7 separate regions of the Homo sapiens genome follow, and regions 2, 3, 4, 5, 6 and 7 are each linked to region 1. The links are contacts of gene promoters, found by promoter capture Hi-C in blood cells and fetal thymus (Javierre and others, 2016). All regions are on one chromosome and are shown on one strand. Each heading gives the region's core, a stretch centred on a gene start or on the middle of the fragment in contact. The rest is flanking DNA. Distances are from core to core; before and after follow the strand shown. Region 1 holds the start of SSR3 (signal sequence receptor subunit 3). Region 2 has its middle 32 kb from the start of LINC02029. Region 3 overlaps LEKR1 (leucine, glutamate and lysine rich 1). Region 4 overlaps LEKR1 (leucine, glutamate and lysine rich 1). Region 5 overlaps LEKR1 (leucine, glutamate and lysine rich 1). Region 6 overlaps KCNAB1 (potassium voltage-gated channel subfamily A regulatory beta subunit 1). Region 7 overlaps LEKR1 (leucine, glutamate and lysine rich 1).

Evidence for each region. Contacts are between HindIII fragments. The CHiCAGO score rates a contact against its expected background, and 5 or more counts as called.
Region 2: a fragment that was not itself captured here is called in contact with the fragment with the promoter of SSR3 in region 1 in 8 of 17 cell types (total B cells, non-activated CD4 T cells, activated CD4 T cells and 5 more); the score reaches 8.4 in total B cells.
Region 3: a fragment that was not itself captured here is called in contact with the fragment with the promoter of SSR3 in region 1 in 4 of 17 cell types (total B cells, naive B cells, non-activated CD4 T cells and 1 more); the score reaches 8.0 in total B cells.
Region 4: a fragment that was not itself captured here is called in contact with the fragment with the promoter of SSR3 in region 1 in 4 of 17 cell types (naive B cells, non-activated CD4 T cells, naive CD4 T cells and 1 more); the score reaches 6.4 in naive B cells.
Region 5: a fragment that was not itself captured here is called in contact with the fragment with the promoter of SSR3 in region 1 in 6 of 17 cell types (total B cells, naive B cells, non-activated CD4 T cells and 3 more); the score reaches 10.5 in total B cells.
Region 6: a fragment that was not itself captured here is called in contact with the fragment with the promoter of SSR3 in region 1 in 6 of 17 cell types (naive CD8 T cells, naive CD4 T cells, total CD4 T cells and 3 more); the score reaches 11.1 in naive CD8 T cells.
Region 7: a fragment that was not itself captured here is called in contact with the fragment with the promoter of SSR3 in region 1 in 1 of 17 cell types (total CD8 T cells); the score reaches 5.1 in total CD8 T cells.

What each region holds. Positions count from the first base shown.
Region 1 is chr3:156,553,369-156,556,605 of GRCh38, forward strand. SSR3 (signal sequence receptor subunit 3) reads right to left here and starts at 1,749. Exons shown (of 5, transcript NM_007107.5): 1 at 1,589-1,749; 2 at 287-413. The coding sequence starts at 1,721. RefSeq lists an enhancer at 1,608-1,687. The HindIII fragment of the contact is 5,682 bases long and covers 591-3,237 here.
Region 2 is chr3:157,048,053-157,051,289 of GRCh38, forward strand. No RefSeq gene overlaps it. Among named protein-coding and RNA genes, the nearest start is that of LINC02029, 32 kb to the right of the region's middle. The HindIII fragment of the contact is 2,644 bases long and covers 174-2,817 here.
Region 3 is chr3:157,026,760-157,029,996 of GRCh38, forward strand. It overlaps LEKR1 (leucine, glutamate and lysine rich 1), which reads left to right. Exons shown (of 13, transcript NM_001004316.3): 12 at 1,344-1,643. Among named protein-coding and RNA genes, the nearest start is that of LINC02029, 53 kb to the right of the region's middle. The HindIII fragment of the contact is 3,184 bases long and covers 146-3,237 here.
Region 4 is chr3:156,996,331-156,999,567 of GRCh38, forward strand. The region is part of intron 9 of LEKR1 (leucine, glutamate and lysine rich 1); the gene reads left to right. Among named protein-coding and RNA genes, the nearest start is that of LINC02029, 84 kb to the right of the region's middle. The HindIII fragment of the contact is 1,011 bases long and covers 1,009-2,019 here.
Region 5 is chr3:156,978,508-156,981,744 of GRCh38, forward strand. It overlaps LEKR1 (leucine, glutamate and lysine rich 1), which reads left to right. Exons shown (of 13, transcript NM_001004316.3): 7 at 687-768. Among named protein-coding and RNA genes, the nearest start is that of LINC02029, 100 kb to the right of the region's middle. RefSeq lists an enhancer at 138-267. The HindIII fragment of the contact is 1,264 bases long and covers 1,041-2,304 here.
Region 6 is chr3:156,142,158-156,145,394 of GRCh38, forward strand. The region is part of intron 1 of KCNAB1 (potassium voltage-gated channel subfamily A regulatory beta subunit 1); the gene reads left to right. Among named protein-coding and RNA genes, the nearest start is that of KCNAB1, 23 kb to the left of the region's middle. The HindIII fragment of the contact is 8,066 bases long and covers 1-3,237 here.
Region 7 is chr3:156,959,924-156,963,160 of GRCh38, forward strand. The region is part of intron 6 of LEKR1 (leucine, glutamate and lysine rich 1); the gene reads left to right. Among named protein-coding and RNA genes, the nearest start is that of LINC02029, 120 kb to the right of the region's middle. The HindIII fragment of the contact is 4,848 bases long and covers 1-3,237 here.

The DNA of each region.
Region 1 (3,237 bases), core at 499-2,998:
ACTTGGTGGGTTTGTTTCTCTGATGAACCTCATATTAAGGCCTGTGTTTAAGTGTTCTAATTCCACCCTCAAAATCTGCTTCTGTAGCCGTGTCAGAATGATCATTGTCTCTACTTCAGTTAGTTAATAATTCTTCCTAGCATCAATGTTCCTTTCCCCCAAAATGTTTATTAATATATATATCTCAAATTAATGCTTATTAAAACCAACACACACAAATGATCTTTAAGAAGACATATAAAAATATAACATGTAGTACGTACTTTCACTTGAAAAACATACTTACTTGTGCTTGAGAACAAATTTCACATTCTTGTATGCAAAGGCTACCAAATATGTGCTTACTAGGGTCATCACACTATACAAAACAGCAGACTGAATAAGATCCATATGCCATATTCGCCAGTATAACCCTGAATTAAAATAAAAGGGGGAAGGGTACAAAAAGAAGCAAAACATTACAACCCCGCAACAAAAGCCTGCGAAATTAATTATAGCTAAGCCTGGTAAAATACCAGGTTATTAGTTATGCAATCCAATAGTATCTGAGGATCTTCAGAAGCGAGATAACCAGTAACAGTATAGTCTCAAGCTTTCCAGTTCAGAACATTTGAAAAACATCACCTTCCTATTACTAGTCCAGATGAGATTTCAACTTCTAAAATGAGAACAAACTCTGGCTCAACGTAATCACAAGTCAGACTTCAAATTTCATTCATCAGGGTACTAGCATGCGAAACACAGGCCATTCCAAAATGCCACGTGCAGCCCCAAACCATAGTTTCCTTGCTGACGTGGCTGTTATCAGAACTCCAAGCAGTGCTATGTCCAATTAGTGAGCCATCATATGGCTTCACATCACGTTAATGGCACGCTGGGTTGTATAAGGACAAAAGAGAAAAATACATTTAGTTTTAAATGCCCAACAACAGTGCAGCAAAAGACAGGAGTTCTGGAAACTTGAGCTCTACTAAAAACGACCTTGTCCAAGTCTGCAGTTTCCCAACCAAGTGAGAATTCTAGAATTGGTCCAGTAGGATTATTAAAAAGTATAAATAAGGTAGATCCCTAACCCCTGGCACTTCAACCTCTCTCTTTTTGCAAAAACCAGGAAAATTATGCAATGGTGTGAAGTAGCTCACGTAAAGATGCACTTATAATTCAGTGGGTCACTTCATGGGTTTCTCACCTAACTAATTTATGCAAAATAAGTAATAAGTTTAAAATTTCGTAACGGCAAGCAACAGTTGTATAGAAAAGGGCAGAGGCAGTATGCTTGAGTTTGTCTGTTTAAATAGAGATTCGGGGCCGCCACCCCAGAACTAGTTAACCACCTTCTCCTGGGGTGGAGCTCGGGAACGTGCGTACTTTTAACAAGTGACCTCCCCGAGTGCTGCACAGGACAATCCCAAGCGACAACACTGTGCCCAAAGAAGAGGCTCCGTGCCTCCCCGAGCTCAGGGGAGCTGGAGAGATTGCCGACCCCCGGCCGGCACCCACGCCTTCCCTGCTCGCCGGGTCCTGCCACGTCCCCGCCCAGCCCGACTAGCCGGCGGCCTGCCTAACCCGCCTCGCTCCCAGCACTCACAGATGGGGATGGCAGACACGATGAACGCGTTTCCGAAGAAGAGCGCGGAGGACTTGGCCGAGAGATTGCGGCTGAAATCCTGCAGGAGCAGGTCCTCCTCAGACTGCTGTTTGGAGCTGCCTTTAGGAGCCATGGCGGAGCTGCAGGCGAGAACAGGGAACGTAGAGCCGGCCGCCAAGGCGGGCAAAGGCCCTTGACTCCGCCCCTGCGGCCGCCGTATCCGCTAACGACCCGTCAGCGCGGCGCGCGGAGGCGGGACCCGGTTTGGCGAAGAGCAAGCGTCCCCAGGATTGGCCAGCTTGGCGCCACTAGATAGGCTTCCGGGCGTGATTGGGCGAGCGGGCCAGACTTCCGGATTCCTGACAAGCCACGTGACCCACCCACCTGGAGGAGAGAGAAGGGATTTGTAGTTTAGTCGGTGCTTTAAAAAAAATTAACAAAACTTTATTGATATTCCACTTCAGAGCTGCTGACAGACTCACGAGTTCTCAGTTCTTCAGAATTCCAAAATTAAAAGCTCTTCTGGCCCCACGCCATTAGTGCCCTCTGTGCGTACCCAGGACTGAGTACGTTGAAGAAGAAAGAAGAGAAAGGTATAGCTAACTCATGTAAAATCCCTTCTCCTTTACACATCCTTTATTTCATTAAATACCTTGAAGAATCTTATGACGTGCGCATCATTACCGCCATTGCAGCTGAAGAGCCTGAGGGTCGTAGACCTGCGGTGTGGGTCTCCAAGGCGTGGGCTCTTTTCACTAAACAATAGGCCACCTCTGTAGGAAGAAGAAAATGGGACTCTTGCTTTTAAGAAACTCATGATCTCATTGATGAAGGCAATATTTAATATATGTCTGATACAAGTTACTACTATTTTATTTTATTTCAACTAGACCTATAGAGTTTTGTGGCTTCCAAAGCCATGCTAAATAAAACATAATACTAAGAACAGGTTGGCTAGGCAAGACTCCCTCTCTGAAGCTCAGAAGGATTAAGTATGTCTATTAAAACAGCTAGATTCCATTTTTAACTCAACACATTATCATTTTTTCTTCAAAAAAAAATTCAACCACATCACTCCCAGCAAATGCTACTTTTGATTACTGAGAACACTCTAGTGCATTAGGCACAATTTCCTCAACCTCCAGCCTCCTTATTAACCGTTTGGTAGATATCTTTCTTCCTCACAGTATCCAAATTGTAATCTACCTCCACAGCTTCCTATTACTAGTCCTAATTGGGCTTTTGTCTTCAATCTTTTCCAGTCTATTCTCTATACAGGTACCAGAGTGAGTTTTCCTGAAATATAAATCCTTCCATTATCTACCGCAAGTGTTCCTTAATGCCAGAAGTTTTCATTAATTCACCACAAAATGAAAAAGAAAAAAAGACCATCTAGTGAATTTTTCAGAAAATCAAAAGTATTCATTTAAAAATATCTGGGTTTATGTCTTTTTTGATGTTAAAAATGCTCTTTATTTTATTACATGGTAGTGATAGAAGAAGAAATTATTATTTTCTCTTACACATACTCCTCCCCCAGTTTTTCCTATCTCACTAAGTTGCATTCTTTTAAACTCATTTGTTGTTCTGGTTAAAATAGTGGGTTTCAACACTAATTATTTTTTTCCTTCTCCATCTATGACCAATTC
Region 2 (3,237 bases), core at 246-2,745, 490 kb after region 1:
AGATTATTGTGTGCAACAGTCTTTGTTATAGGGTTATACATGCTTTTTACAGTCTTGCAATTTCAGCTCATGGAGATACAGTGGGTCTGTATCTTCAGGAACCATGGGGATAAAGTAGGTTTCTTCATTTTTTCTAAGTTATGAACATATTTAGATTTATAAAGTCACACATAAGCTTTTCTAATGGTGATGTAGACTATTACTGCAAAACCTGATTTCTCAGTTTGCTATTACATTTTTGCCTTATTAGTACTTCGGTAAATAATCACTCTGAGAATAGAATCATGATCTGCAATGAGGTTGTATTATACTCCACAAATATATCAGAGAAGTAATTCCATGAATAAACAGAAATGTCATATTAACATTTATTTCAACCTAGACCATTTGAATGGCGACGACTAAGCTATGTTGCCTTTAAAGAAAGACATCTTTAACAACAAAAAAAATAGCGTTATAGTAGGTAACCTACAGGTTAGGAACACATTCAAACTTTTCTTGATTTTCTCACTGATAAATAAGTTCCTGGCATGAGACAGTTATAAGGAATCTTAGGAAAGTAATTGAGTAGGATGAAAAAATAAGGCTCCAAATGCATATAATGGATATTTAGTCTAATACTTTTAATTTCTCCATGGATTGATGTTTGCCATGACTTGCCATGGAAGGATTTACAGGTGTTAAGAGAAAAGATATCAAAGAAAATATTCCTTAGAGAAGTATAACCCTCTGGTTTTCTTCTTAAACTGGTATTCATGGACAAAGATGGAGAATTCTTCTAAGTTAACATAGAATTCTCAAACGATTTTTAAAAGTCTTATTGAATTAAATTACTATATTTGTAGTTGGTCAGAACTACTTAAAAGTCACATTTTCTGGTAAGGGAATTGACTGGAAGATACATTAACACAAAATTATGTAAGACTAAGATATTTTAATGTTCTGTTAGTCTGAAAGTTTTTGTCATATTTAAGATCAATTATTGCTAATTTATTTGACTATGGAGCTAGCTTTCTCAAGTTTTATCTTTTTAAATTCTTATGACTCTTACACTATTGCACTAATAGATCAACCTAGTATCCTAAAAGAGGTAACGCACTACAGCTGAAAATGTTTAACCATTGCGTTGCGGCTTATGGAGCACAGGAAATCAATTTGGTATGTGTTCAAAATTCACAAATGCTATCATGACTATAGATTATTAAACTTTTTTATTTTCACGTTTTAGGAAAATAATGTAGACCATCTCTTGCAAAGGACACCTTTAATGGTCCCCCAAATCATGACAGACAATTATGGTATCATTGCTAAGGTGGTATCAATGGTATTTTGAGAAAGAATTTGACTTTTCTGCTTGAAAATATTAACCCTGTTTAATACCACGTTGTGAAGCCAATACTATTGTGTTGCATTTTTAGAATATTAAATATAAATTATATCATCTTTGTATATTCTGAATTTTACATATAGAATTTTCTTAAGAACATAATAGATGAATCTGGGATACACTTTTCTATGACAATATTTACCATGATCTAGTAAGTCAAAAGATATCCCTCTCTTCCAACATTTATATAGCACAGTGCTTTATATTCATTAGTTAAAAAAAATTTACTAAACATCCCTTACTCCATAAGAAACTATGTGAGAATACTGAGTCACAGTAAGTAATTTGCCCAAAATTAAGTAATTTGGGCAAAATTACTTAAGTAATTTGGGCAAAATTACTTAAGTAATTTGCCCAAAATAATAATAGATTAATAAATAATTTTAAACTTCTGCAGTTTCTGAACATCTTGATCCATAGATTAATACTGAATCTGTATTATTCATTCACTCATTTCTTCAACAGACACGAGGAACTGAAAAAGTACTGTGAGAGCTACAAAGAAAATTAAAGCATCATACAGATTCCCAGGAATTATACAGTAGAGAGCAGGGAGAGAGCATATATAGAAATTAGAATATACAGCAAAGGATATTGGGTAAAAAGAGAATTGACAGCAGGGTGTTATGTGAATTCACCTTTTTGCTAGAAGAATCAGGGAATACTTTAAGCAAGAATTGGCATTTACAATGGATCTTGAAGAATAGATAGGATTTATGGAAGAAGGTATATTAGGTAGAAGAAATGTATAAAAAGAGTCACAAATTCTGTTTATGGGAAATGTAGAAGACATTTGGTGAAGGGAAGTAGTGGGAACCTGAAAAAGTAGGTTGACCTCATTGCATGAAGGTGTTGAATAAGGACCCACTGCAGGCTTTCAACTAGAAGTGACATGGTGTGCATTGTTGAAATTTGGAAGCATTGCTCTAGCAGGGGTGTATTGGAGTAATTATGAGATGGAAAGGCTGGAGATGGGATACTAGTTGGTGGACTAATACAGTAGTTCAGGCAAGAGTTAATGAAATTCTGAGTAAAGATATTGATATTGGGGATAAACAAGAGGCAACTGATTCAAATTCTATTCAGAGAAGGGAAAGGATTTGTTCCCTGTTAAATGCTATTTAATACCACTACCAGCCATTGCCATCTTAGCAGGAGTGCGTTTTATGAGACTGGCTCCAATTAAAGGATCAGCCCCTATCTAAGAATATTACAGCTTCTCTGAAACATGTGAAATAATAGAAACTACATTTTTATATAGGCAACAAATAACCCCACAGTCTCTGTATTCATTTTAAAAATCTCCTTAAAGTTAAAGGAAAATACTAATCTCAATAAATGTCCTAAGAATTATGGAGAAAGACTGGAAATTGACCTTAAAAAGAAATAACTATCTTGGCTTAAAGAATGCAAAGTGCAACTAAATGGGAAGCTTTGGGAGTAACACAGCACAATAAAACTTCTTTTTATTTTCAATAACCATTTATGAAGGAAAATAAAGAAGACAGCAGCTAACATAAAAATAAGAGTTATCTTAAAAATTAATAATTTTATAGTTCTGAAGGGCCTGATGCATCACCTGGTCCAAACCTGTAATTTTACTGTAGACAATAGGGCCCTCAGACGGCCCTATCTAGTCACTTAGTGACTAGAATCTGATTTTTAATAAGATCCTTAGGTGATTCGTATACTCACTGAAGTTTAAAAAGCACTGCTTATGATGTTACCACTGGCCCTGGCATATTCTACTTTTAAGAGCTGTGTATTAGTATTGAACAGAAATAGCCTTGCTGTACTCAGTTCCCTTATGTTTAACTGAAACCTGTGGTACACTGAGACCCACCCTCATA
Region 3 (3,237 bases), core at 488-2,987, 470 kb after region 1:
TAATATTTATAACATGACAATAATTGAGCATAAGTAATAAAGATATGTTTCATTAGAAGCAGCTCTTGTTTCGTTGTTTTGTTTCTTAAGGAGAAAGAAAACAAGAGGACTTTTCCCTTCTAAAGACTTTCATGCCATCAGGAAAAGCTTCTCCAAGTTATTCTCTCATTCATTTATCTAGAGGAACCACCTTGAGAAGCAATACATTTTCAGAATATTCAAGTGTTTTCTACAACTGTGCTGTCCGTCATGATAGCCACATGTGGCTGCAAAAGTTTCCATTAAATTAATTAAAATTAAATACAATTTAAATTCAGTTCCTTGGTCACATTAGTCATATTTCAGGTGCTCAATAGTCAATACTCTTTTTTGAGAGCTATGGTTAGAGTATTTACACCATGGAAATTACATACAAATCTTGCTTTTTTTTTTTTAAATTTGAGAGTCAGTTGTTAAACATTTACCAGCACCGTCAGTAGTCACATGTGGCTAGTGACTACCATATTGGATAGCATAGAATATCTCTAACACCACAGAAAGCTCTGTTGGGCAGTACTGTTCTGGAAGGCATAGTATCTGGAGTTCCTCCAGCCATTATATACAAAAAAGAAAAAAAAATTATGTTAAAGAAAAATTTATTGGTACAGTTAGGGTAAAGTATAACTCTAGTGCTCTCCTCCTTGCATTCCCCCAAAATCAGGCATTTTGAGATCCCAAAGCCAACCTAGTTAGGTCCAGACAGTCCCCTGATCTACTTGTCAAGACTTGAGCTGAGGCTGGGCACAGTGGCTCACAGCTGTAATCCCAGCACTTTGGGAGGCTGAGGCAGGAGGATTGCTTGAGCCCAGGAGTTTAAGACCAGCCATGGTAACACAGAGAGACACCATCTCTACAAAAAATAAAAAATTAGCCAGGGGTGGTGGCATGAGTCTGTGATCCAGCTACTGGAGAGGCTGAATTGGTAGGATCGTTTGAGCGCAGGAGGTCAAGGCTGCTGAGAGCCATGATTACACCACTGCACCACTGTGCTCCAGCCTTGGCAACAGAGCAAGACCCTGTCTCAAAAAAAAAGACTTGTGCTATCCTTTGTAGCTTAATATAGTCACAGAAATTTATATATTTCCAAAAGTGCCCAAGTGATTAATGTGATACTGTTTTAAGTAGAAAAATAAATGTTTTAGTCTTTTAAAAAGAAAATCTTGAAGGCCTGCACATCATGGGTTTGGTTTCATCTGATCAAGTGAGTACACTGATTAATGAAAATAAACCTCTTAAAAACCATAAGAATTCTGTGGTTACCTAGAAACTATCGCCTACAAGCTAATATGAGATTTATCTTACAGATATCTGACTTAATCACAGGCGCTACAAGAGATCTAAGGCAGGAAGTGACCACTCTTAAAGAAAAACTTCACAAATCCCATATTCGGTACACTGAAGAATCTAATTCAAAGGAAAAAGAAATTGAAAATCTTAAAAATTTGGTTGCAGAATTTGAATCTCGCTTGAAGAAGGAAATTGACAGTAATGATTCAGTTTCAGAAAACTTGAGGAAGGAAATGGAACAGAAGTCGGATGAACTGAAAAGAGTAATGCTGGCTCAAACACAACTGATAGAGCAATTTAACCAGTCCCAGGAAGAGGTAGGAAGCAGATAGTGGTAACTTTGCAATTAATCAAAGAGCACATGTTCTTTCAACAAACAAACAAAAACGTGAAAGGCAGCTTAGTTTCATGGAAAGAGTCCTGGAATGTTAGTCTGACCTAAATCACATCCTGGTGCTCTGTCCTTAATCACATCCTGGTGCTCTGTCCTTAACTTTAGGCAGTCACTTAGCCTCTCCAGACCTGGCTTTCCTGTGAACTACATAATCTCTAAAAGTTTCCTTAGCACCTAGTTCTTTCTTGCAAATAACTATTTTAAGCCTCTAAGAGTAGGAATCTTTATATGTTTATGTCTTATTTGTTTTAACGTTAAATTGTTGCCAAATAAACTTTTAGAGAACTTTCTGCATACATTTAAAAAAATTAGACTATGTCTTTTAAACACAATTTTACCTTAGGTTTTTACTTCCTATCAATGTAAACTTATAAGGTAATATGCATGCGTCGGTTTTCTTTCTTATGTATGTATGATTATTTCAGTGATGGTTTTCATTCAAACTGGAGTAGACCTATTTTGATTTGAAAACATTTTTGAAAGTCTTATGTCTGAACTACTGAGCAGTTTAGAAATACTGAAACAATTCATCTGTTCTCTAATCATCAATATCATATCACATTACAATATTTGATCCCTTTGATGACAGTATAGCAAATAAAGGTAAATGGAGGAAGATTCTGAATGTTGGTGAGAAGTAATATCTTTGTTGGTTTGGCATCAGTAAAGGCATAAAAGGAAAGTGCTAACAGCAATATCGATTATTAACAATTAAATATGCCATGGTCTTGCTATATTTAAATTATCAGCCAAAATAGAAAGTTTACATAATCATTGTAATTATGTAATTATGAAGTGAACCTATTACAAAGAAGTTATAAATATAAGATAAAATATGGAGTAGATAGAATACTAGATCAAGAATAATGCCTAAAACAACTCTATAAGTAGAAATTATTTACATGTTACAAATGAGGAAGAGACTGAAGAAGGTTGAATAATTTCCATAAGGTCAGACAGTTTGGTGGAGCCAAGATTCAAATTCGAATCTCTATGATATGATGTTTCCTCTTTTGGGAAACCCAGTTCTTATTATTCTGCTTCTGTATTTCACAGTGACCACAGACTTAGCAGTTATAATCTCCAGGGACTCAATTTTCTTTTAGTATTATAATTAAGACAAAAAGATGATTAAGTTCTCTTGTTGTTACACAGCAGCTCAGTCCCCCCAATGAAGGAAGCCGCACCCCTAGTTCAGGCAGGAGTAAGGAGGGAGAGCACACGTGGACTTAGCTCTGCTAGAGAAACCCTGAGAAAGAGAGAAGTGATGCTGATTTGCCTCAAATGAGACAGCAGTAGTGAATCTCTAGAGGAGGGAAGCAGGATAAAGGACAGAAAGATTGAGGCAACTAGACTAGCAGGTTTTCTAACTATTCATTCACAAAAGAAATGGCAATATAGAAAATGAGGAGTAACTTATAAACTAGGACAAACAGAAAAAGACGGAAGGGCCAAATTCAGTAAATGTATATTAGCATCTGTGTTACTCTGTTCTTGCCTTAGTCTAAAGGAATATG
Region 4 (3,237 bases), core at 264-2,763, 440 kb after region 1:
AAGAGCCAGGGAGGAACTTTTACAAGCAAAAGACAAGTTGGTGAGTTCTGGGAAAGGACAGCAGGGTAGCGTGGCTAGTGGCATAGTAAGTGTGAGTGATGCAGGCAGGGTCACATCATGCAGGGCCTTGCAGGCCTTTGGGAGTTTGGGTGCTGTTTTCAGTGCAATGAAGAGAAACCATTGAAGGTATTTAAGCAGAAGAGTGACACTGTAGAAAAATCATTCTGGATGCTGGACGGAGAAGGTATTGGCAATGGGAGCAAGTCAGGACATTTACTGTTTTGATAAAGGATTTTATAGGTAGTGAAGCTTAAGAGATATGAGAAATATGAGGATCTCCAGCTCCTACACCCTGTCAGTTTCTGTTGGGTTAAGTGTCTATGTCAAGTGGGTAGTAGTAAAATAGCCATGGCTTACTCCATGGTGAGCCTAAGGGTTAAAAAGATCTTCTCATTCGGGCATGGTGGTTCATGCCTGTGATTCCAGCACTCTGGGAGGCCAAGGTGGATGGATCATCTAAGGTCAGTGGTTCGCGAACAGCCTGGCCAACATAGTGAAACCCCGTCTCTTCTAAAAATACAAAAATTAGCTGAGTGTGGTGGCGGGTGCCTGTAATCCCAGCTACTTGGGAGGCTGAGGCAGGAGAATCGTCTGAACCTGGGAGGCGGAGGTTGCAGTGAGCCGAGACTGCACCATTGCACTCCAGCCTGGGCAACAAGAGCAAAACTTCATTTAAAAAAAAAAAAAAAAGATATTCTGAAGAACAAATGGCCTTCAGAAGCTTTTGACATTACTGTCCTAACTTGTCTTGAAACGGTGGTCTTTTGGCTCCAGGGCAACCTGTTATTCGGTCTCTTTTCTAGCTCTGTTTTGGTTCTTTCCCCTTCCCTCCTGTGATCACCTGATTGCAGACATTCCTTAAAATTCACAATTGAACTTGACTTTCCTCTTTCCACTTTTTTCCTTCAGTAAACTGACCCTGTCTCAGCTTAGCAAGTTTGCTCTTGAAGCTTTGATTTGAAGCACCAATGGGACTTTTAAATAAGAAATTTCCTTAAGCAGTTGGAGGTGTGAACATCCCTCCAAAAGAAGCAGCTGGGCTCAGGAAACACTTTTAATATAGAGATGCTTGATAATACCCTAGGAGATTCTGGTTCAGTAGGTCTGGGTAGGGCCTAGGAATCTGCCACTTGGCAAAGTACCAAACCACTGCTGTGGAAGTATTACAACCAACCAGGCTACCAGATGTGCTCACCAAAGGCCAGAGCCCCATTCACTCCCACTGACTTTGTGTGCTTTCATAAATCCAAGCAGTGTCAGATACACACCAGCCTTCCTCCCTGACCCCTCAGGAGAGCAGAGCCCTTACTGAGGTCACAAATTGTGCAGTTTAGAAGCTGTGTATTTCAGAAGAGAAGAAAACGATGTAAAAAGCCAGAGGTGACCCTAGAAAAAAACTAGCAGAACTTCTGAATTTGGAGAAATAAGGGAATTAGTAACTAGCAAATAGTTCATTGATTAGTACAAATCTATTTATTTGGGCATTGCTATCTTCCCCACACTCAGCTGAGGAAGTGAAAGGTAGGGAAGAATCTTCAGTGAAAGGAAAAGAAGTAGGTCTTCTCGAATCATGGGATTCTGCAGGTAAAGACAGTCTGGCCAGCTTGGTCACGGACACACTGGGACTGGTGAAAGGGGTTTCCTTTATGGATGGAGAGGGATGCAGCAAGGCATAAGGATGATGTCAGAGAAAAGTGTGGCCATTTTTAAAATTCTTGTAAAGACAGCCCTCAGCTCCCATCCTACTGGGACACAAGGTCTCGGTGGCCAAGGTCAGAACTCTGCCCAGAACTGTGAATGTGCAACACTCCTTCAGGCATATTGTGGGTTAAAAAGTGTCCTGTTGGCTGACAGGGGCACCTAATTCCATCCTTAGGGAAAACTATTTCTATAGTAAAATATGTCTTAAATTCTCTATAACAAATGTACAAATATATTTTATAAGGACATATGTGTTTAAGCTTGAAGACTGCCTACATATAGCACTTGGAGAAATTCGCTTACACCAGCATGTGGCCTACAACCATACAGCCAGAACACACACTGTTTATAATAGCTCTCATACCCTTTGCATTCTTAGATGCTGTATTATCTTTATCTTGGTAAACTCCAAGAAAAAATACAGAAAGAGATTTATTGTGATCAATTTGCCCATAACATGATGGGAACAATGAAGAATGTTGTTAGAGGAAAAGCTTAATCGTAATTAAAGTTAGGTGCAAGTTGCTTATGTGTAAATTATTCTGAGATATAAATAATATACATCTGCATCTGTTTGGCTCTGCATTAAGTATTAAGATACTTATGTATCTTAAATGCAGTTTACTAAATTGTCCCCATTTCCCCATAAAGCATAATTTTTAAGCTACAGGGAAGGGTTTTATCCACTTCCCTCATCCTCACCTGCATTACATTAACTTCTCTTTTGGCCTCTCCTCTCTCCTTCATCTTTTTCTTTTTAGTCAAAAGCTATGAACCCTCACTGATATGGTTTGGCTGTGTCCCCACCCAAATTTCATCTTGAATTGTAGTTCCCATAATCCCCACGTGTCATGGGAGGGACCCAGTGGTGGTGATTGAATCATGGGGGCAGTTACTCCCATGCCATTCTCGTGATAGTGAGTGAGTTCTCACGAGATCTGATGGTTTTATAAGGGGCTTTTCCCCCTTTGCCCGGCACTCACTCCATCCTGCCGCCCTGTGAAGAAGGTGTCTGCTTCTCCTTTGCCTTACTCCATGATTGTAAGTTTCCTGAGGCCTCCCAAGCAATGCGGAACTGTGAGTCAATTAAACCTCTTTCCTTTATAAATTACCCAGTCTCGGGCAGTTCTTTATAGCAGCATGAGAACAGACAGACAATACACTCACTTCAGAAAAGTATACACAAAACCCAGCACATTATTTCAAGAGGTTTGTAGTCTCCTGTTTTCAAATATATGGCAGGACCTCATGATTAAACATACCTGCTTTCTCATTTTCTTTCTATCCCTCCTTCTGTCTCCTCTCTCCTCCCCTCCCTTTTTCTCCCCTCCCGTTTTCCTTTCTCTTTCTCAAGCTCTTTCACCTATCCGCAGGTTTCACAATGAGGAGCCCTCTAAGTGCTTCTGTAGACATTATCTTATCTTGCCTTCACGGCACCCTGTGCACAATGCCATGTACCATTTTGTGAGGCTCAGT
Region 5 (3,237 bases), core at 423-2,922, 430 kb after region 1:
CACAGGACAATGGAAGGACTTAGATAATTCAAGCCATTTGTTCTTTCTGCTATGGTTTCAGTTCTGCATTCACACACTTGTTAGACAGGGCTGCTTGAATAATAATCCTCAAATACTGCTTACATTCTCCAGTTAAAGACTCTATGGAAGCCAGTTTCCTGCTTGTATTCTCTTGGTTTTGAAAGTCACTAAAATGCCTTTTAGATGCTACCCAGAGTTAACACGTTCTTTACTATGAGCCTGGAACATGATTTGTCTGTTTTAGTTCTAGCAGGAAGACTCAGCCATGCTTCACAGTTCCAGACCACAAAAGTGAGCTCAGGCAATCATGTGTTTTAGAAACAAGACACGTGATCAGAAATTCTTATGTTTGTCAGCTACATACATTTCCTTTGAAAACATTAGTAAAATTTAGCCTATTAGCTGTTTGAAAATCAGCATGGTGGTGGGGGCAGAAAGAGGCCAACAAATTGGGCCTGTCAAAACCCATTAAGTCTGTGGGGTGTTAGGATAGGGAGGGCTGAGTAGGCAATGATAAGTTGCATATGGACATACAGGCAAAGTGGAATAAGCAGCTGCCTTATTCTTCAGGAGCTGACTAGCAACAAAAGAATATGGTTTACTCTATGAAAATATCTGGACACTTAAAATGTACTAATCAGATGAAATACATTGTGTCATTTCAGATTTACAATGTCTAGTAGAGGCACTTGGATTAAAACTTCAGAAGGCGGTGACAGAGATGGACAACTATAAAGAAATGCTTATGTAAGATGGAGAATATTAAACAACTTATAACAGTGCTCTGTAGATGTGTTACAAAATGGCAAGAATTAGGAAGAAATGACAAGAATTATAAAGACCCTGGTGTGTTCTCTGTGATTCTTTTGGCAGTGATTTACTGGTGTGGGTAATAGTTTACTGCTGCTTTTCTTGCCCACTTTACTGGCCTAGATTATATATTGAAGAACCTGTAAATATTTTTAAATACATGGAGGATTTCTTTCTCTCAATAAGAAACTTACTTATCCATATATTAAAGCTTTCCCTGATAGTTCAAATGCAGTAACTTAATGTGAAATAGTCTTTGAACTTTTTTCTTATCTTTGTTTCTTTATTATCTCTCCACAAGAAACAATATTGAACTTGTATCTCAAAATTACTAATTTTAGCTTCAAAGAGAGAGTTGAGTAGCTTTGAAATGCTGAAGTACTTATGCTTGATATAAGTGAGAAAGAAATATTGGAAAACACGTGATAAGAAAATGATGTAAAATCAAGAACACTATTTCTTTTAAAAATTAATTTTCAGCCTGGGCAACACGGAGAAACTTTGTCTCCACAAAAAAATACAAAAATTATCCATGCGTGTTGGCACACTCCTGTAGTCCCAGCTACTCGGGAGGCTGAACTGGGAAGATCACCTAAGCCTAGAAAGTTGAAGCTACAGTGAACCATGATCATGCCACTACACTCCAGCCTGGGCGACAGAGTGAGACCCTGTCTCAAAATGAATAAATAAGTAAAAATTACTTTTATTTCAGAAATTTCAAAAATTATAGCATAAACATAGTATATCTATAATTATAATACTAAAATAGTATGTATATAATCTTTGAAAAGTAAGTAGATTCTTTTACTTTATGATATATATGATTTTCAGTTCCTATATTTTAGGAGGATGAACCTCATAAAAACATAAATATTTAGAATGCTTAGCAACCAAATGTTTGTGTTGACCATGAACTACTCCTAAAATCAATGTGTTTAATAAAATACTGAACACAAGAAGGAACAAATACCAAAAATACCCTATCAAATTAATGTATACTTGGATTATTTGTAACAAAATAGTTTGTTTCTGAAAAGGAAAATAAAATATTCATACTTTATAACACTGTGGTTAATAGTACAGTAAGTATAGTAGTTCAGGTGTCTGTGTAGATGGCTGGGGTTGAAGGAATTGGTGGACGGGGGTCCTTAGAAGACCCCCTAGGCCCAGGAAGTAACTTTTTGGGAGATTGTTTTAAATCATGAAAAGAAACAAGGTGATGGTTGCTAGAAAAAAAAAAATCGTTGTTGCTGTCCCTCTAATAACATCAAGGAGGGGTTTGGCCATGTGGATATCTCTTGTGGAAAGCAGTCTAGTCAGGCCCCAGCTACTGTGTGATGATTGCTTCTTGGAGTGAAGAGGGCACAGTCTAGGCATAGGGAGGTGGTGTTAGCACACAACTAAGCTAAGAGGGAATTTGTGGGCATACCAAGACTTAGCATATATAGTGGAGTCTTAGAAAGTTAGGAAAGAAGCTTAACATAGAAATGAGCATAGTGAAGAAAAGGAATAAACTTACTGGTAGTGACATGAATTGATATTTTACAGAATAAGTTGGCACAGAATTCTGTGTATATTCATGTTCTGCATAATGACATTTTGGTCAGTGACAGACCATGTATACAAAGATGGTCCTATAAGATTATAATACCGTATATTTACTGTACCTTTTCTATGGTCAGATATGTTTAGATATGCAAATACTTACCATTGTGTTACAATTACCTACACTATTCAATACATTAGCATTCTGTATAGGTTTGTAGCCTAGGAACAATAGGCTATATCGTATAGCCTACGTGTGTAGTAGGTTATTCCATCTTGGTTTGTGTACACTCAAGGATGTTCACACAATGACAAAATTGCGTAATGACACATTTCTTGGAATGTACCCCTGTTGTAAAGCAATGAATGACTGTGCATGGAGCCTGCCCATTTAATATTAACACATGCTTTGTGGTATTTTTGTTTATTATAATTTTAACATAACTTGTGCTGAGAAATGGTGAGAGTCAGGGTAGACTGGAGATGCAGGGAGAAATACACCACTAAAGTCCATCAAACTAATTATCTGTAGGAAGTTACTGTATAATTGCAGAAATGCTGATGATGTTTTATCAGTTTATAAAACTAATGTTTCCTACACGTACAAGACCTTCTTAACAATTAAAAAATGGAGATGATGCCCATTTTTAGAAATGCGAATTAGGAAAGATAGAGCCACTTAAATGGCTCCAAGTGCTGGAGACCTTTCTCTATGCTACCTGTCTCTAGCTCTTCCATCTATACTCTATCTACTCTCCTTTACTGCTAGGATTAAGTTGAGGAGTATGGGCATTTAGGATCAAAGCCTGGGACTGCTTAAAGCCTCAGGTTGCTCAGAGGTCAGGAGGTGAGGCTAGAGTC
Region 6 (3,237 bases), core at 448-2,947, 410 kb before region 1:
GTCAGATATGTGGTTTGCAAATATTTTCTCCCAGTCTGTAATTTGCTTTTTAAAATCCCCTTCACGTGGTATTTCATAGAGCAGAAGTTGTTAATGTTGATGAAATCTAATTTATGAGCTTTTCCTTTTATGGATTGTGCTTTTGGTGTCAAGTCTAATAAGTCTTCACTTAACTCTAGGTTCTGAGGATTTTCTCCTGTTTTTACCTACAAGTTTATAGTTTTACATTTTACATTTAAATCCATGATCAATTTTGCGTTGATTTTTGTATAAAGATGAGGTTTAGGTCAATGGTTCATTTATTTTTGTTTGTTGCTGTTCTGCTTTGCCTCGCTTATGGATATCCAGTTGCTCCAGCACCATTTGATGGAAAAGCTATTCTTCCTCCACAGATTTGCTCTTCATATTTGTCAAAAATAATTAGCCATATTTGTGTGAACCCTTTGCCTTTTACAACCACTTGTTGATATTTGTCTATCATTTGACAGCAACATCTGAAAGAGGTTAATGGACCTTTCACCCAAATGAATCATGCCTCTAGTATAAAAAATTATTTGATTACAAAATATTTAATAATTTAGAGAAGTCTCATTACATACTCATGAATCATCCCTAAGGCTTTATGGTCCTTATAAAAACAGATTGGCCCAGATCCCACCAAAATATTTCCTTTTACCTAAATAGAAAGACATGGGAAAAAGTTCCCATATTTTTTTTCCCCAGGGCCAGTACATAGTTGCTTATGTTTGACTCTGAGTACTTTAAAGGGATGAGAAAAGTGATTGGCCACCAAAAGCCTCCTTTATGCACAGGCCTGGGCAGGGACACACAACCAACAGCTCTGTCGGGAACTTAGGAGCCTGCTCGCCTACAAAAATGATAAGAGAGATCTAAAGAAAACAAGCTAAACCTTTTGAGGGACATACTGAAGCCAGATAACCCAAGGTATTCACAGCAAGATACAGTGAGTCTTAAAGTTAAGCACCGTGCAATTAGCTTTGCTTCCTTGGGTTTTTGAAACATGCATCTGTATAAACCTGCCTGTGCAGACATCCCGAGCCCCAAGCTGGGTCTGCCAAAATCCAGTGAATCGGCTCTAAAATGTAGATGGCACCTAGCAGTGACCAAGACTCAGCCTCAGGCGGCCTGCAAACCTGTGAGGCCCAGTGGAGCAGCCGAACAGAAATATGTGGAAAAGTTTCTACGTGTTCATGGAATTTCGTTGCAGGAAACCACCAGAGCAGAGACGGGCATGGCATACAGGTACTGCTGATTGCAAAGTCATCCAACCAGGGCACTGCACTGATGTCAAAGGTTGTTATTAAAGAAATAAGGACTGAAATAGCAAGACAAAACCCTGTAAGAAAAAGAAGGAAAAATGCAGTGAGCCCTCTTCTTGGGTTGCATTCTTGTTTTTTTTTTTTTTTTTTTTTTTTTTTTAGCTTTAAGCGTTCTCTTTTCTCAGAGGGTTACAGAAAAGACAGTCAAGTTCATCTGTGGAAACTCCTAACCATGTGCTCCAGAAGAAGTATCTTTGGCTCTGAGTAGGGAGGTGATTTGGCAGGTCAAAATGAAGAGTGGGGACTCCATTCTTCTTAAGGGAAAGAGAATTTATAAGTTAAGAGTAGAATTTTTTTTTTTAATGCTGCCTGGGATTCAAGACTTATTTTCTTCTAAACTTGAATCATGTGGTCTGTACTAATAGCTAATAAAGTAGTTCAAGTTCTCCTTGAAATGACAGCACTTTATTTATTTATTTATTTATTTATTTATTTATTTATTTTTTAAATCAGTGTCACCCAAGATAAATTACTGGTTGTACACTAAACTTCCAATATCATTATTTATTTTATGAAAGATTAACAAAAAGGAGAAATGTTTTCTTGGTATAGGGTTGGATGTGTAATCTTTATAAGTTGCTCTGTGATGGGAAGAATCTTTCCTATTCAGAGCAATTATTGCTCCTGCACAAGTGCTTCCTTTACGTACGCCTGGAGTTTTAAACAGCCCAGAAGCTGAGTAAAAGCTATTCAGAAGGACAAGGTACTGAAAACTGAAAAAACAATTTAGCAATTGTAAGAACAGTTGTCCTAGCTCATATCAAAACTTCTGCACAGCATAAGATTGTTTTTCATGTACAAGATGTCCCCAGTGATTTCATTTTTCCAAAATCTGAAGGTCTATTTCAGTGTAGTAGCTGCTGCTCTAATTTATCAGCTAATTATATTCATAAAGCAATTTGCAATGATATGGCTCCTCTCTGGAGAGCAAAGTATTTTACACAGACTCTATGTAATAAAAGGGTTGTGCAGAAAAGAAATGAACTCTTCTCAATTTATAAGGAGGATAGGACAGCCTACCACATCCTGCTTTAGAAGGGGAGCTCACCTTTTCATGGTAGCTCATGGAATGAGGAGGGATGGATGAGGAGGAGATGCTGCTGTTTCTTTCTGAATCTGTCACCGGAAGGAGCCTGCTTCTCTGTCCCCCCACGTTTTCTCTCTTCTCCGTGTTTCCTCGACCCTCAGTGGTGGTAGTGATGGTGATGTGAACACAGATCGGGCGAAGGGGAAGATGGACCATTTCACTTTTAAAAAAGTCTGCCTCCATGTCTTTGTCATAGGATGGGTGGTATTACCATGAATTGTTACATAAACCTTTAGAGGGTATGCCTTTCTCTCTCAAAAGTCTAGTTTAAATATCAATTACAGATCTGTGCTGTGTGCCAATGTTCAGATGAAGGTATGTTCTAGGAAAGCATTTTTCAAAGGATTATGAAGTAGAGGAACACGTTCTTCAGACAGGTGAAAGCAAAGCTGCCTCAGCTAAAGGTGGGAGCTTGGAGCCCACCTGCTTGAGGGGAGCAGTCATCCCCCAGCCTCTTCTGAGACACCTATGTGGATTCCATACTCCCCATAGGTTTTGGGCGACTCTTCATGATGCCTTGGTGGGGAAGGCTCTGTTACCTTGGAGATGCCAGATACTGCCTTGGACAAGGGTGTATGCTACCATATCACACCCTAGTAAGAAATGGGACTTAGGAGAATGTTGCCCCTAAATCAGTTTGAGGGGAGAAAAGCACAGTTTAATTGATCATTAACCCTAAGAAATAGCCAAGGCTCTAAATTATGATGAGCTTGTGCTCTGACACATCTTCCTGACACATTTCTCCATTACCCACTCCCCAATGTCCTTAGTGCTCTGTTTATTCTCCCTTTAAGACACTCGCTTACTGCC
Region 7 (3,237 bases), core at 358-2,857, 410 kb after region 1:
TCTCTGCTGTACCTTTCATCCCCCCCACCCATGTTCCCTACCAATGTGGTATTAATTGAAAGCATGCTAAGCCAAGAATCAGAACATGATGACCCTTTCACACATTAGGCAGGTGACTCTGACATGCCATTTATCCTTAATGAATATATGTCCACACCTAGGCAATGAATGGATAGAACTAAGACCTTGGAAGGCCCTTTGGGCTCTGATATGCTATGATTCTGGTTCTAACTCTGATGGCATTTTCTTGTTTCCAAAGTTAAATAAATGCTCATATTTTTCACATTTTGTTACTTGTTTCCTTGTAAATCACCACTGAAAAGTTTCAGCTTTGATTCAAGTATATGATTTTTGTTTGGTTGGTTGGTTGGTTTTGTTTTGAGATGGAGTCTCACTCTGTTGCCCAGACTGGAGTGCAGTGGCGCGATCTCGGCTCACTGCAACCTCCACCTCCTGGATTCAAGTGATTCTCGTGCCTCAGCCTCTGGAGTAGCTGGGATTACAGACATGCGCCACCAAGCCTGGCTAATTTTTGTATTTTTAGTAGAGACGGGGTTTCACCATGTTGGCCAGGCTGGTCTCAAACTCCTGACTTCAGGTGATCTGCCCTCCTAGGCCTCTCAAAGTACTGGGATTACAGGCGTGAGCCACCATGCCTGGCCCAAGCATACGGTTTTTATGATCATTACTTTTCTACATGAAAAACTTTTAACTTTGTTTTCCCCACATTTTTTCCCTTTATTTCTGTCTTGAAATAGAGATGCTCAAAAATTTAAATACATGTGTTAATTCTGGTGCATATAGTTTAATAGTGGTTTAGGAGTAAATAATGGGCTATCAATAGCAACCTAACTCTTAATGCCAAAATTTGATTTTTTCATAGAAAAGCCAACATATGAAGTAAAAATTTGAAGACCAAATTTTTTGTTTCCTTTTGAAGATTTATTTACCTAAGTTCTGTAATTTTATGTTTAGCTCACACTAATAACTTCCAAAATGCACAATTTATCTCAATTGATATAATCCTCTCAGAGGTCATTGTGACCCACAGTCAGTCTACTTAAATGATTTTCCTTCCACCTGCTAGAATAAAATGTCCTTTACTTTTTGTCAGCAGTCACAAATATTGGAAGACAGAGTTCAAATAAGTCACTTCAGCATTCAGCTTATTTTTAATATCCTTCCTTAATTTATTTTACCAACTTTCAAATTTATTCCAAGTGAAAAAACTTTTGACTTTTTAATTTTAGTAAGCTGTTCAGTATAGTAAATAACACAAATACTTTAAAAAATGATTTTGCATATAACATTTTAACATCCTAATTGAATCTTTTAAAACAGCTTTACAGAGATAAAATTCACAAATTACAAAATTCACCCACTTTAAGTGTACAATTCAGTGGTTTTTAGGATATTTGCAGAGTTGTGTGACCATCAGCAAAGTCGAATTTTGGGAGATTTCTTTCACACCAAAAAGAAACTTTGTGGCCATCAACAGCCACTCCCCTTACACTCCTGCCCCTTTCCAACAATCCTTAACCTACTTTCTATCTCTATAGACTTACCTATCCTGGACATTTTATACAAATAGAACCATACAATATGCGGTCTTTTGTGTGTGGCGTCTTTCACTTAGGATAATGTTTGTGAGTTTCATCCATGTTGTAGCATATGTAAGTACTGCATTCCTTAATTAGTAGCTTGTTTAGTGCTTGTGATTCAAGTCACAAAATGAGTGATGTGGTTCAGTTGGAAAAAATACTGAGCTGGGATCCAAACAGTTCTGCTTTCTGGTACTGTTTAGGCCTTGTATAGGCCCTTTGAATAAGTTATTAATTTCTATGTCTCAGTTACTTCATCTGTAAATTGGGAATATGGTAGCTTTTCTTACCTACCTTAATACATTAGAATAGGCAAGATAAAATGTAAGATCATCTAAAGAACTATATATTCAAATGTATTTTAAAGTAACTTTCCTGATGTGATAGCAAACCAAATGATTATATTTAGTATACAAGCATTCAAATTTCTTTAAATACTACTTTAATTTCAGAAGAAAGCTATACATTTTAATTTCTCTTTGCCCAAAGGTGTATTCACCTCGACTTGTTTATTTTCTAGTCAGCCCTGATTAGCTGTAACAGTAGTCTGCCTGCTCTTAGAAAAGGTTACTGAAGAAGAGAGTGCCTATGTTTAATTCAGGAGTCATCCGTCTGTATGGCAGATAGAGATCTATGAACACAGATCCACAAGGACCTTACCTGCAAGGTCTGATTTTCAGAGAGCACTCACTGTAGTGACTTGATCAGCCTTTATGATTCCTTTTGAACTGTTGGACTTTAGTTGGAATAATATGACCTTGGCTTCAAATAAAAGGGGAAAGTGCTGATTTTACAAACAGAAAACCAAGGAAGTTTGTAATTATTTTTAGTTGTATTAAATCCAACAGCCCTTAAAAGAGACCAGCTTGATAATGAACCACTGTGGGCTGCTTCTGTGTCCAAAAGTAGATGGACAAAAAGTTTAGCCTGATCTCTAGACAAATTGCAAGCCAGGCAGTATTAACTAAAATTCTAAGAAATCTTTTTTAGAACCTGATCACCATTTGAAATGTGAGTCTTATAAAGGGATCTCCTGTGGAAGCCATGTGATCTTTGATCACTGGAGTCGTCTAAGATTATCTTTGTTTTCTTGCCTTTTCATTTGCTCCCAACATTGAACTTTCATCTAAAGATTACCACTGTTTTATGTATCATCTCCATTTTATTAATGTTTGAATCATAGAGGAATTTTCTATAATGATCATAGGCATCTACTCCTTATAATGGTTGTCATTCATCTGAGACTCCTTTCTCTCCTTTGAGATAGCTGTAATTCTGGTTCATTCTCTAGTCATTTTTCATTTGTGCCATTGCAACCTTCTCTCCTTGTTCTTTACCTCCAACATCATTTTCTTATTCTAAGGCTAGACTTTAGCTCTACCACTCTCTTTGCCTTTTCTTTAACTGTACCATAGGACCTTGGGAATAAATTTTAGACTTCATTTTTTAAATTCTATGGCTTCTGATCTTTGCCTGATTTCCTAAATTCACCCCTCTCAGATAGTTTGCCCCTTGCATTCTTTCTCCCATTATATATACTTGTAGCCTGAGGTGTCTACATCATCCCATCCCAATGTTGTCTCCTTCTGCTCATTCAGATACCAGTTTCCAATTTATTTAGTCATTCAGCAATATT